Regions from separate parts of the Homo sapiens genome. Here regions 1, 2 and 4 are each linked to region 3. Evidence: promoter capture Hi-C in 16 types of primary human blood cells and fetal thymus (Javierre and others, 2016). All regions are on one chromosome and are shown on one strand. The core of a region is centred on a gene start or on the middle of the fragment in contact, and the rest is flanking DNA. Distances in the headings are between cores, read along the strand shown.

What was found. The method cuts DNA at HindIII sites, captures the fragments that hold promoters and counts their contacts. A CHiCAGO score of 5 or more calls a contact.
Region 1: a fragment that was not itself captured here is called in contact with the fragment with the promoter of ILKAP in region 3 in 1 of 17 cell types (erythroblasts); the score reaches 5.0 in erythroblasts.
Region 2: a fragment that was not itself captured here is called in contact with the fragment with the promoter of ILKAP in region 3 in 1 of 17 cell types (activated CD4 T cells); the score reaches 5.5 in activated CD4 T cells.
Region 4: a fragment that was not itself captured here is called in contact with the fragment with the promoter of ILKAP in region 3 in 1 of 17 cell types (erythroblasts); the score reaches 5.2 in erythroblasts.

What each region holds. Positions count from the first base shown.
Region 1 is chr2:237,886,381-237,889,080 of GRCh38, reverse strand. The region is part of intron 2 of RAMP1 (receptor activity modifying protein 1); the gene reads right to left. Among named protein-coding and RNA genes, the nearest start is that of RAMP1, 28 kb to the right of the region's middle. The HindIII fragment of the contact is 6,008 bases long and covers 1-2,700 here.
Region 2 is chr2:237,937,233-237,939,932 of GRCh38, reverse strand. No RefSeq gene overlaps it. Among named protein-coding and RNA genes, the nearest start is that of UBE2F-SCLY, 28 kb to the left of the region's middle. The HindIII fragment of the contact is 6,534 bases long and covers 1-2,700 here.
Region 3 is chr2:238,202,354-238,205,053 of GRCh38, reverse strand. It overlaps ILKAP (ILK associated serine/threonine phosphatase), which reads left to right and starts at 1,359. Exons shown (of 12, transcript NM_030768.3): 1 at 1,359-1,555. The coding sequence starts at 1,501. RefSeq lists enhancers at 478-1,350, 2,313-2,372 and silencers at 1,163-1,732, 1,853-1,942. The HindIII fragment of the contact is 5,343 bases long and covers 491-2,700 here.
Region 4 is chr2:237,919,397-237,922,096 of GRCh38, reverse strand. No RefSeq gene overlaps it. Among named protein-coding and RNA genes, the nearest start is that of UBE2F-SCLY, 46 kb to the left of the region's middle. The HindIII fragment of the contact is 7,029 bases long and covers 1-2,700 here.

The sequences.
Region 1 (2,700 bases), core at 76-2,575, 320 kb after region 3:
TTCTTCAAGAATCTATGGCCGGGCAAAGTGGCTCATGCCTGTAATCTTGGGAGGCCGAGGCGGATGGATCACTTGAGGTCAGGAGTTCGAGACCAGCCTGGCCAACATGGTGAAACCCCGTCTCTATTAAAAATACAAAAAATTAGCTGGGCGTGGTGGCGGGTGCCTGTAGTTCCAGCTACTCAGGAGGCTGAGGTAGGAGAATCACTTGAACCCGGGAGGCAGGGGTTGCAGTGAGCCAAGATTGTGCCGCTGCACTCCAGCCTGGGCAAGAGAGGGAGACTCCGTCTCAAAACAAACAAACAAAAAAAAGAATTTGTAAAAGAAGATTAAAAATACCTCCAATGGGCATATGGGAAATCTCTGTACCTTCCTCTCAATTTTGCTGTGAACCTAAAACTGCTCTAAAAAATAAAGTCTTAAAAAAAGGAAAAAAGGGCAATGACTCACAGGACAAATAGGAAAGGTCATGGTGACGTAACTTGCACTTGAGAAAAAACAAATTCCAAATAACTGTCAGAGACCAGTTCAACTTTCCTAATTGCCAAAGACATGCAAACTAAAACTACAGAGGAAATCTCCTTTGACCTGCAAAAATAAAATCCCTACAAACTCAATACTCACGAGCCTATGAGGAACTAGGCATTTTCATATGTTGCTGATAGAATTATAAATTAGTAAAATTCTTTAGAGGAACAACTGGCAAAAATCTATCAAGAACCACAGAATGGGCCGGGCGTGGTGGCTCACGCCTGTAATTCCAGCACTTTGAGAGGCGGAGGTGGATCACCTGAGATCAGGAGTTTGAGACCAGCCTGGCCAACATAGTGAAACCCTGTCTCTACTAAAAATACAAAAAATTAGCTAGGCATGGTGGCAGGCACCTGTAATCCCAGCTACTCGGGAGGCTGAGGCAGGAGAATCGCTTGAACCCAGAAGCCAGAAGTTGCAGTGAGCCGAGATTGTGCCACTGCACTCCAGCCTGGGCGACACAGCAGGATTCTGTCTCAAAAAAAAACCCCCCAGAACCACAGAATGTTCATGGTACATGCTACAGTAAGCCTACTTGCATGAATTATTTCTCCCAGGAATGTCTAACAACAAAATCTTTTTTAAAAAAACAAAGGATATATGTACACAAGTTCTTATAGTGTTGTCATTTATTTCAGACAAGGTCTCACTTTGTCACCTGGGCTGGAATGGAGTGGCACAACCTCAACCTCCTGGGCCGAGGCGATCCTCCCACTTCAGCCTCCCTAGGACTACAGGTGCGCCCATTACACTCAGCTAATGTTTACATTTTTTGTAGATACCTGGTTTCGCCATGTTGCCCAGGCTGGTCTCGAACTCCTGGGCTCAAGTGATCCACATGCCTTGGTCTCCCAAAGTGCTGGGATTGCAGGTGTGAGCCACTGTGCCCAGCTCCATCATTTATAATAGCAAAAACCAGGAAATGGCTTTAACTCGAGCAGGAGTAGGGAACCACAGCGTGCCAGTGTGGCCTGCCCTAGAGTGAGGCGGCCTCCACTGCCTGGGCAGTGAGGGTAAACTCAGTCTCTTTTTCAGAAAGTGCATTCTCCATTTTTTGATTGAGACAAGAAGCTGAAACAAGAGTGGACTCAGACCCAAGGCCTGTCCCAAGACGCATCCCAAAGGGCACCCTGTGCTTAGGTCCCGCAAGATACTCGGTGTCCTCGAACTATGCACAGGGAAGGCTGTGAGGTGCCACTGCTCCCTGGAGGCCCTCCCACAGGGGACTGAGAATGCTGCTGGCCCTGCCTGTGCCTGGGAGATGTCTACCATCTGAGTGATGAATGGATAGATCCTGGGAGATGCCATGGCCCAGCCTGGGGGCTGGAGTGAAGGTCAGCATTAGGAGGGGACATCTGCTCTGTCCTCTACCCACTGCCCTCCCCACACAGGACCCACAGCCAGAGGTGTCACACACAAGGGCACATCTTCATCCTCTCTCCCCCACCCCACCCCCACCCCTTCCCCATGGGCAGCCCAGGAGGCCGCCTTCGGGGCTCAGTGAAGCCCTGTGTGCACAAACTGGCCTGTGTCCCAGGACAGCCAAGTCCCGTCTGCACAGCCTGGATGGTTCTAGGGCTTTCTGGGGGTGTGGCTGCTGTAGTCGAGTGTCCACAGGGGAGGCGGGGGTGGATGCTGAGCTACGACGAGCCCCCGCCACCAGACGTGTTCCACCTGCCCACCCTTTCACTCACTGCCGGGATCTGGTTAGCGTCACCGCATGTCTGACCTTTCGCGTTGACGCACAGGCCTGATTTCATCCCCATACTCAGGAGGATGTGAAACCAGGCAGTTAATCACCTGATGGGAAAGACGCCATGGTGGGCTCAGTGCCACGCTCCGCGCTAAGTCACCACAGGGTCTGGGGAAGGTCTCTCCATCTGTGCCTTCCCCCAGGGCCAGAAGACTTCCGAAAAAGATGTGCTGAGGATGACAAGGTGGTCCCTGGGTGTGGAGGGGTGAGGCCAGCAGTCGCCCGCTCCAGCCCCAGCCTCCAAGCTCCCCCAACACGAGGGCTCCTCTCTGTGGGTCCTCACAGATGCATTTCTCCTGGAGCTTTCTGAGAAGGGAAATGGGGCTCCTCCTCCCCATTCCAGAGCCCCCCAGCCCAGCAGGCAGGTGTCATCAGATCCTCTGGGGATCCTCATCAGAACCCACCATGGCGCGCAC
Region 2 (2,700 bases), core at 36-2,535, 270 kb after region 3:
AAGTTTGTGCCTTAAGCAAATGAGACACTCGGCCCTCTTCAGTTTCCTATAAAAGCCTTGGCATTCAGTTGTAAAAATGGCAACCCTCTTCAAGTCCCCTCTCTGCAGCAGAGAGCTTTCTTCTTTCACTTATTAAACTTTTGCTTCAAACTCATCCTTTGTGTCCATACTCCTCAACTCTCTTGGTTGTAAGACAAAGAACTCTGGGTGATACCTCACAATGAGAGACTGCTCCATTGTGGTGCATTGATGAGACTCTAACACCATTAAGTGACACATACCTGTATATGTGTTCATACTAACTCATGTCACATATGTAACCAGCAGCATGTATCTACAACTATTTCTATATGTAGCTATCTGCATCTATAGTAAGCTAAGAATGAATTCATACTGATGTATAATCCATCACCACATGGATCATTCTAGCTTCCTCCCCTTGCTTTTGTGTAAACACACTGAGAAATGTAGCTTCTACCATCTGCCACTGTTTACATAATTGCTCTATTCCAGTATATTTGTAGAGCAGTATCTGAATTATTAGCTCATGCCTCCATAGCAAACAACTTTATTAACTAGACTACAGTGCTTTTGTGCAATTCCTTCTGTCTTTAGTCTTAGAGGTGCAACTCATTTCCAAGTTACTTAGGTCAGCACCTTCCCATCCCCTCCACCCCCACCCCTCCATCCCCTCCAGCAAAGTTGTTGCATGCATTTGTAATACAGTTTGTTGCGTAAACCAAAAATACAATTCTAAGCCTCCCAACTGACTGAAGAGACCCCTCCTTTCTACCAAGGGGGTCCAAAGAAACCTGAAAAACTACTTCATGTGATGACAGGAAAGAGGGGTCAGACATGCCTCATTATATTCTCCTCCCTTTGGAGTTCAGGCACAACTGACCAACACTAACATTAAAACAGAGGTCTTAAGAGTGACAAAACAGACTCTTTATAGTAATAAGATACCAAATTCCAACCTGATTCTAGTATAACATCACTTGACAGATAGTGTGTTCCTGAAAGAAATCAAAATATTTATCCATATATATATATATATATATATATATTTTAGACAGAGTTTCACTCTGCCATCCAGGCTAGAGTGCAGTGGTGCAATCTCAGCTCACTGCAGCCTCCACCTCCTGGGTTCAAGTGATTCTCCTGCCTCAGCCTCCCGAGTAGCTGGGATTACAGGTATCCACCACCACACCTGGCTAATTTTTGTATTTTTAGTAGAGATGGGGTCTCACTATGTTGCCCTGGCTGGGCTCGAACTCCTGACCTCAGCTGATCCACCTGCCTCAGCCTCCCAAAGTGCTGGGATTACAGGCATAAGCCACTGGGCCCGGCCCCCAAATATATTTCTTTTCTTTTTTTTTTCTTCTCGAGATGGAGCCTTCCTCTGTCGCCCAGTCTGGAGTGCAATGGCACAATCTTGGCTCACTGCAACTGCTGCCTCCCAGGTTCAAGCAATTATCCTGCCTCAGCATCCTGAGTAGCTGGGATTACAGGTGTGCACCACCATGCCCAGCTAATCTTTGTATTTTTTTTTTTTTTTTTGAGATGGAGTCTCGCTCTGTCACCCAGGCTGGAGTGCAGTGGCGCGATCTCACTGCAAGCTCTGCCTCATGGGTTCATGCCATTGTCCTGCCTTAGCCTCCCGACCGAGTAGCTAGGACTATAGGCGCCTGCCACCATGCCCGGCTAATTTTTTGTATTTTTAGTAGAGACAGGGTTTCACTGTGTTAGCCAGGATGGTCTTGATTTCCTGACCTCGTGATCGGCCTGCTTCGGCCTCCCAAAGTGCTGGGATTACAGGTGTGAGCCACTGTGCCCATCTGGAGTTTGACTTTTTAAAATCAACAACAGTTAGATTCTCTTGTCACGGTCGGCATTCCTTCCTGAGAGCCCCCTCCCCAACCTCCTAAATTATAATATCCGTAGGAAAGTAATAGACTTTCAACTATTAACAGATATCCTGCAATATTGCTGTAAACACTGATTCATTCTAGGAGTCTTTATTCTTTGGGATTTTCTACACAGACAATCATCTCATCTGTGAACAAAGACAATTTTGCCTCTTACTTTCCAATATGTATACATTTTATTTCCTTTTCTTGTTTTATTGCACTTCCTAGGACTTTGGTATGATATTGAATCATAGTGGTAAAAGGGGATATCTTTGCCTTTTTCCTGTTCTCAGGGGAAAAGCATTCAACTTTTCTTCATTAGGTATAATATTAGTTGTAGGGTTTTTGGGTAGATTAAAAAAAAACAAACTGACAAAGTTCCCTCCTCTTTCTGGTTTTATTTACTGAATTTTTTTTATCATGGATGGGTGTTGGTTTTGTCAAATGCTTTTTCAGCATCAATGAATATGATCATATGATTTCTTTTCTTTAGACTTTTGATGTCATGGATTGCATTAATTTATTTTTGAATGCTGAATCAGTCTTGTATACCTGGAATAAATATCATTTGATTTATGTTTAATTCTTTTCATGTGTTGTTGGATTCAATTTACTAATATTTTGAGAATTTTTTTTTCTTTTTTTGAGATAGAGTCTTGCCATGTCACCCAGGCTGGAGTGCAGTGGTGCAATCTCGGCTCACTGCAAGTTCTGCCTCCCAGGTTCACGCCGTTCTCCTGCCTCAGCCTCCTGAGTAGCTGGACTACAGGTGCCTGCCATCACGCCCAGC
Region 3 (2,700 bases), core at 110-2,609:
GAGAATGCTTAGTCTGTAAGAGAGAGCGCTCCTGATCGAAATTGGCCAGAATCCCCTCTCAGGTTTATTCTCTGAAATAAACCTTTTAATGTTGAGCCGCTTTTTGTATTTATTTCCTCTTTCTTTAACGGTTACAAGCATTGTTACTTGAGTGTTTCTGCTGTAATGGAGGAGGCAGCATGAATATCTCAAACGGTTGCTAGTGAGAAGCCACGCAGATGAGAGGCATGAAGCCTTGTTGGGCTCCCTCCATGTCCTACAGCCAGAGAGCGTCAGAAATACATCTGCCCCAGAATGAACTGGGCTGAAAACTCTTTGCATGGAGGGAGACCACATAACCTGGGGAACTTGGGTAAACGATGTTGGAACGGAGGTGTAAGATTTGGGTTTGTGTTAGTTGATTTGGGGAAACATTTATGGAAACGGGCCTTTGCTCCGGATTGGATGTCAGGAAGAGGAGGATTCCATGATTGGATATCTTGATGAAGCTTATCTAGACGGCAGGAGGACGAGACAAAGGCTAAACATGTAATGGTAAAGAAGCAGCAATCACTCTTATTGGCCAAGACGAGGGGAATGTGGTCACTTTTGTGGCTTGGACAGTGTTCCTGTTTTGTCTGTGTTCACACTTGATTACACAGTGGTCTGTTTTTTTCTCTTGATCTGTATCACGGCCTGATGTTGGTGTTTTATGAAATTGTTCACATTCAAAGAGAACACCCAGGCCTAGCTGTTTGTGCCAGACCAACCCCAAGTCCTGGCTGCAGAACCAGGCCAGCTCCCCGATGTCAGTGGCCGCCTTTCTCTTTACAGGCATGGAGGGGGACACCATTAAGGAGGAGCCCCTCTTCTCCGCTCCCCACAGACACCAGTGGGTGCAGACAAGTCAGGGAATGCCTCCTTTCCCTCCGGCATCTTTTGAGGTTTCCGTCCTGACGCCCAGGGCCGCTCCATCCAAGCCTCGGTTTCTCAGTCTCTAAAACAGGCCAGAAACCAGGCACGCCGTGGTGAAAGGACGAGCCGAAGAGATGGCAAGAGCTCCAGAAAGCCTTCCCAGGCATCAGGGGCTGCCCTTGAGCTCAGACGTTTCTCTCTGGACAGGGCTTCTTGGACAGGAACTCAACGAAACTTGACAGAAATCGGACACCCCCAGCCAAGGAAAAGCAGGAGGGGCCCGGGGTTCGCCAAGGCGGGAAACACCGCGGGGCCCAGACGGCGCCGTCCGCCCGGCTCGCAGTCGGGGCGCGGGAGGGGCCCACGCGCATGCGCACCGCCCCGCCCCCAGCCGCCCCGCCCAGCCCGCGCGCAGCCCTCTGGGGCGGCCGGGCCACGCCGCGCGCCGATTGGTGGCGTCCGGGACTCTCCCTGCAGGTGACTGACGGCGCCGGCCGCCCCTGCCCGTCGCCCGCCCGCTGCTGCCGCCCGCCCGGGGTGTGGAGCCCGGCCGCTGCTCGCGGGCTGAGTGTCTGTCGCTGCTGCCGCCTCCACCCAGCCTCCGCCATGGACCTCTTCGGGGACCTGCCGGAGCCCGAGCGCTCGCCGCGCCCGGCTGCCGGTAAGCGGCGTTGCCGCCGGGCCGGCCAGGGAAGGGAGAGCAGGCGGGATGGGGGCGGCCTGAGGCCCGGGGCGGCTGAGGCGGCGCCCGCGCTGGGAGGCGGCGGGCGGCGCGGGCTGCACGGGGCCTGCTCCTGCCTGGCCAGGCCCCGTCCGGCCCACTGGCGGCCCTGTCGGAGGCCCGGTCGCTCGCGGAGCTCGGAGAGGCCGCTCCGCCATTTTCGCTACGCAGGAAGGAAAGGGCCGAGCCGTCGTGGCCACGGCCCCTCTGCGTGGCGGTGAAAGGCGCCGGCGCGACCGCGTGGGCCGACCCGAGGGACCGGCTCTGAACGCCCGGCGGCACCGCGGGCCCCCGCGCCCCGATTCCACCCGCGGCCTGGGCTGCCTTGCGCGTCGCCCGCCCGCGGCTTCCGGGCCGCACTTCACCCGCGGGCTGTGGAACGGCCGCGTTCCGGGCCGGTGCAAGTTCAGGGGCTTGGCGTTTTTATTTGCACTGGAGATTGAATTAATCACCATCTTAATCCTTCGTGTTTTTGAAGCCTGGAAGACAGGATGCCTCCTCTGTCATCCTGTGATTTTGTGATAATTAACAGTAGTTTTTTTTTTTTTTTTCTGGTCCACGGGAAGTTCCCCCTCTCCTTGAAGTTAAGGGGTCCGCTCATCTCCTAAGCGCTGGCCCCTGCCAGTGGGAGTCCCTGTGGGCTGTGGTTTGAGCTCAGCATCCTAGCAGCTTGAAACAGGGCCTGTGTTAATCCCTGCGTCCTGTGGGTTACAGTCTCCGGGTTTCATCTGTCAAAACGCGTGAATATTTCATATGCAAGACTTCCAGCTTGATGTTGTAGTTTAGGGCCTTATTACAAAATTTAACTTGGGGGCAGAAAACCTGGAAAACTTAAGACGTTCAGATTTCCAGGCCCACCTCAGCCCCAGTAAATCCGAATCCCTGAGAGTGGGGTTTCCGAATCTGTTACTAAATCCCCAGGCCAACCCAGCGGGGGCTGGAGACCAGTGGTTTGGGAGCTGCTGTTGTAGGGTAGACGGAGGTGAGTAAGGCCCAGCCTTCGCTTTCTAAGAGCTGCTTTCTGAAGGGTACTAATTACGGTAATTAAAACTGGCAAAAGTTAATGACTGTGGGAAATGCTGAGG
Region 4 (2,700 bases), core at 136-2,635, 280 kb after region 3:
CCCATTTTTCAGAAGCGGGATGACAAGCCCCTGCTGCCTTTCACCAATGCCCGTGAATGCACCTGCTTGGGAATCCTCTTTGGAATCTCCCTGAGGTCTTCTGCCCCTCCCCGTGTCTCCCTCATTAAACCACATTTTCCCACAATGAGAACGTGCCATGATGTGCGTTGATGCAAAGCAGGTCTTTATTCAATCTTGTGATGTTTCCGTAGCCAATGCCTTACTGCAGTGCCGTTTTCCATGACTTTTCACGTGAATTACAACACTTTAATTCCATTCCAGCTTAAATTGGCTGTGTTGGGTCAGGTAGAAAAGCCCACTGCCCTGGGTGACACTTTTATGGTTGGGGAAGTGGCTCTTGTCCTGGCTGAGTTGTGTCCTTGCCTCAGAATGTGACTTCACATCTTGAAGTCCTAACCAGCAGTACCTCAGAATGTGACTGGGTTTGGACCCAGGGTCTTTACAGAGGTGACTAAGGTTAAATGAGGTCACTGGGTGGGCCCTAACCCAATGTGACTGTGCCCTTATAAGAAGAGAAGATTAGGGCCAGGTGCAGTGGCTCATGCCTGTAATCCCAGCACTTTGGGAGGCCAATATGGGTGGATCACCTGAGGTCAAGGGTTCAAGACCAGCCTGGCCAACATGGTGAAACCCCATCTCTATTAAAAATACAAAAATTAGTCAAGCGTGGTGGCACACACCTGTAATCCCAGCTACTTGGGAGGCTGAGGTGGGAGAATTGCTTGAACCCGGGAGGTGGGGGCTGCAGCGAGCGGAGATTGCGCCACTGCACTCCAGCCTAGGTGACTGGGCGAGACCCTGTCTCAAAAGAAAAAAAAAAGATTAGGATGCAGGCACAGAAAGACGACCATATGAGGCAGGGAGGAAATGACAAGCCAAGAAGAGAGGCATCAGAAGGAACCAACCCTGCCGACCCCTTGATCTCAGGCTTCCAGCCTCCACAGCTGCGAGAAACGCACTTCTGTTGTTTAAGTCCCCAGCCTGTTATAGCAGCAGCTTGGGCAGACTCCGACTGCACTGCTTTATCCTCAGCCGAGCCCGAGGAGGAGGAGACAATCCCCAAACTCGATCGTTTCCTATCATTATGATCACCGATTATTCTCCTTTTGACTCACCCGACCTTCTGTGCAGAAGGGCTGGGAACACTGAGAGACGGGAGCATTTACCCACATGTGTTCACGTGCACGTGCAGCCACAGCTCCCAGCCCTGCTGTGAAAGTGAATCACTATGGCCCCGGTTAGCAGCGTTTGCCATGTGCCTGCCACATGGCCAAGGGCTGTCTTCACTGTGAGTCCCTGAAGTGTCCATGGCCAGCACTCTGCAGGCGATGACACTGAAGCCCAGAGGGTTGAGGAGCTTGCCTCGCCTTTCTTCCTTCCTTTCTTTTTTTTTTTTTTTGACATGGGGTCTTATTCTGTCACCCAGGCTGGAGTGCAGTGGTGTGATCATGGCTTACTGCCTCCCCAGCCCAAGCGATCCTCCCCCACAGCCTCCTGAGTAGCTGGGACTACAGGCACATGCCACCACACCCAGCTAATTTTTTAAATTTTTTTGTAGAGATGAGGTCTCACTATGTTGCCTAGGCTGGTCTCAAACTCCTGGGCTCAAGTGATCCTCCAGCCTCAGCCTCAGCCTCCCAAAGTGCTGGGATGACAGGCGTGAGCCACTGTGCCCAGCCTGCCTCACCATTTTTAATCGGCACAGCCAGGATTTGGTTTCAACTAAGGCAGCTTGGTGCCATCACTTCTATGCTACAACTTTTAAAAATATTGTTTTTTAAAACATTTTATTTACATTATATACTTTCACACCTATGACCATCTGAAACTTTTTTTTTGAGATGGGGTCTTGCTCCGTCACCCACACTGGAGTGCGGTGGCATGATTTTGGCTTGCTGCAGCCTCCCACCTCCAGGCTTAAGTGATCCTCCCACCTCAGCCTCCAGAGTAGCTGGGACCACAGGTGTGCGCCACCATACCTGGTTAAGTTTTTGTATTTTTGGTAGAGATGGGGTTTCGTCGTGTTGCCCAGCCTGGTCTCGAACTCCTGAGCTCAAGCAATCTGCTCTCCTCAGCCTCCCAAAGTACTGGGATTACAAGTGGGAGCCATTGCACCCGGCCTGACCATTTGAAACATTTTAAAGGTGGCACTGCTTCTTGTAAGAAGAGATCTTAGGTGGCAGGGGCAGGGCTGGGATGTAGGTGCTCTCATGGCAGGATGCACTGGGGATGGAAAGCAGCTGCCACCTGTCATGGACATGCACCTCCAGTCACCCCTGTCTGCCTCCCGCCCTGCCCCCAGAAAACAGGAAGCAAACTTCCCCGGCCTCCTGTCAGAGTGTCTGTGGGGAAGCGATTCACGTGGGGGCATGAGCACTGTCCCCAGGCCCAAGGATTGTGGCTGGGGTGGGGCAGAGAGGGATGCTTTGGAGGGCTGCTCTCTTCCCGCTGTTCCTCTGCACCCCCTTCACATTTTTGTAACCCAAATAAAGATGGGCACCCATGGTCCACCTCCGCACAGGCCCAGGAAGAAAAAAAACAAAGTCAGATCCAAGTTCACTTCCTAAAATAGCCTTGAAAAGCAATTTAGGTCCTTCTTAAATTTGTTCTAGGGGGAACCAAAGTGCAATTATGTTCACAATCTAGAGAAAAATGTCTTGAAACCTCTTTCCTCTCCCG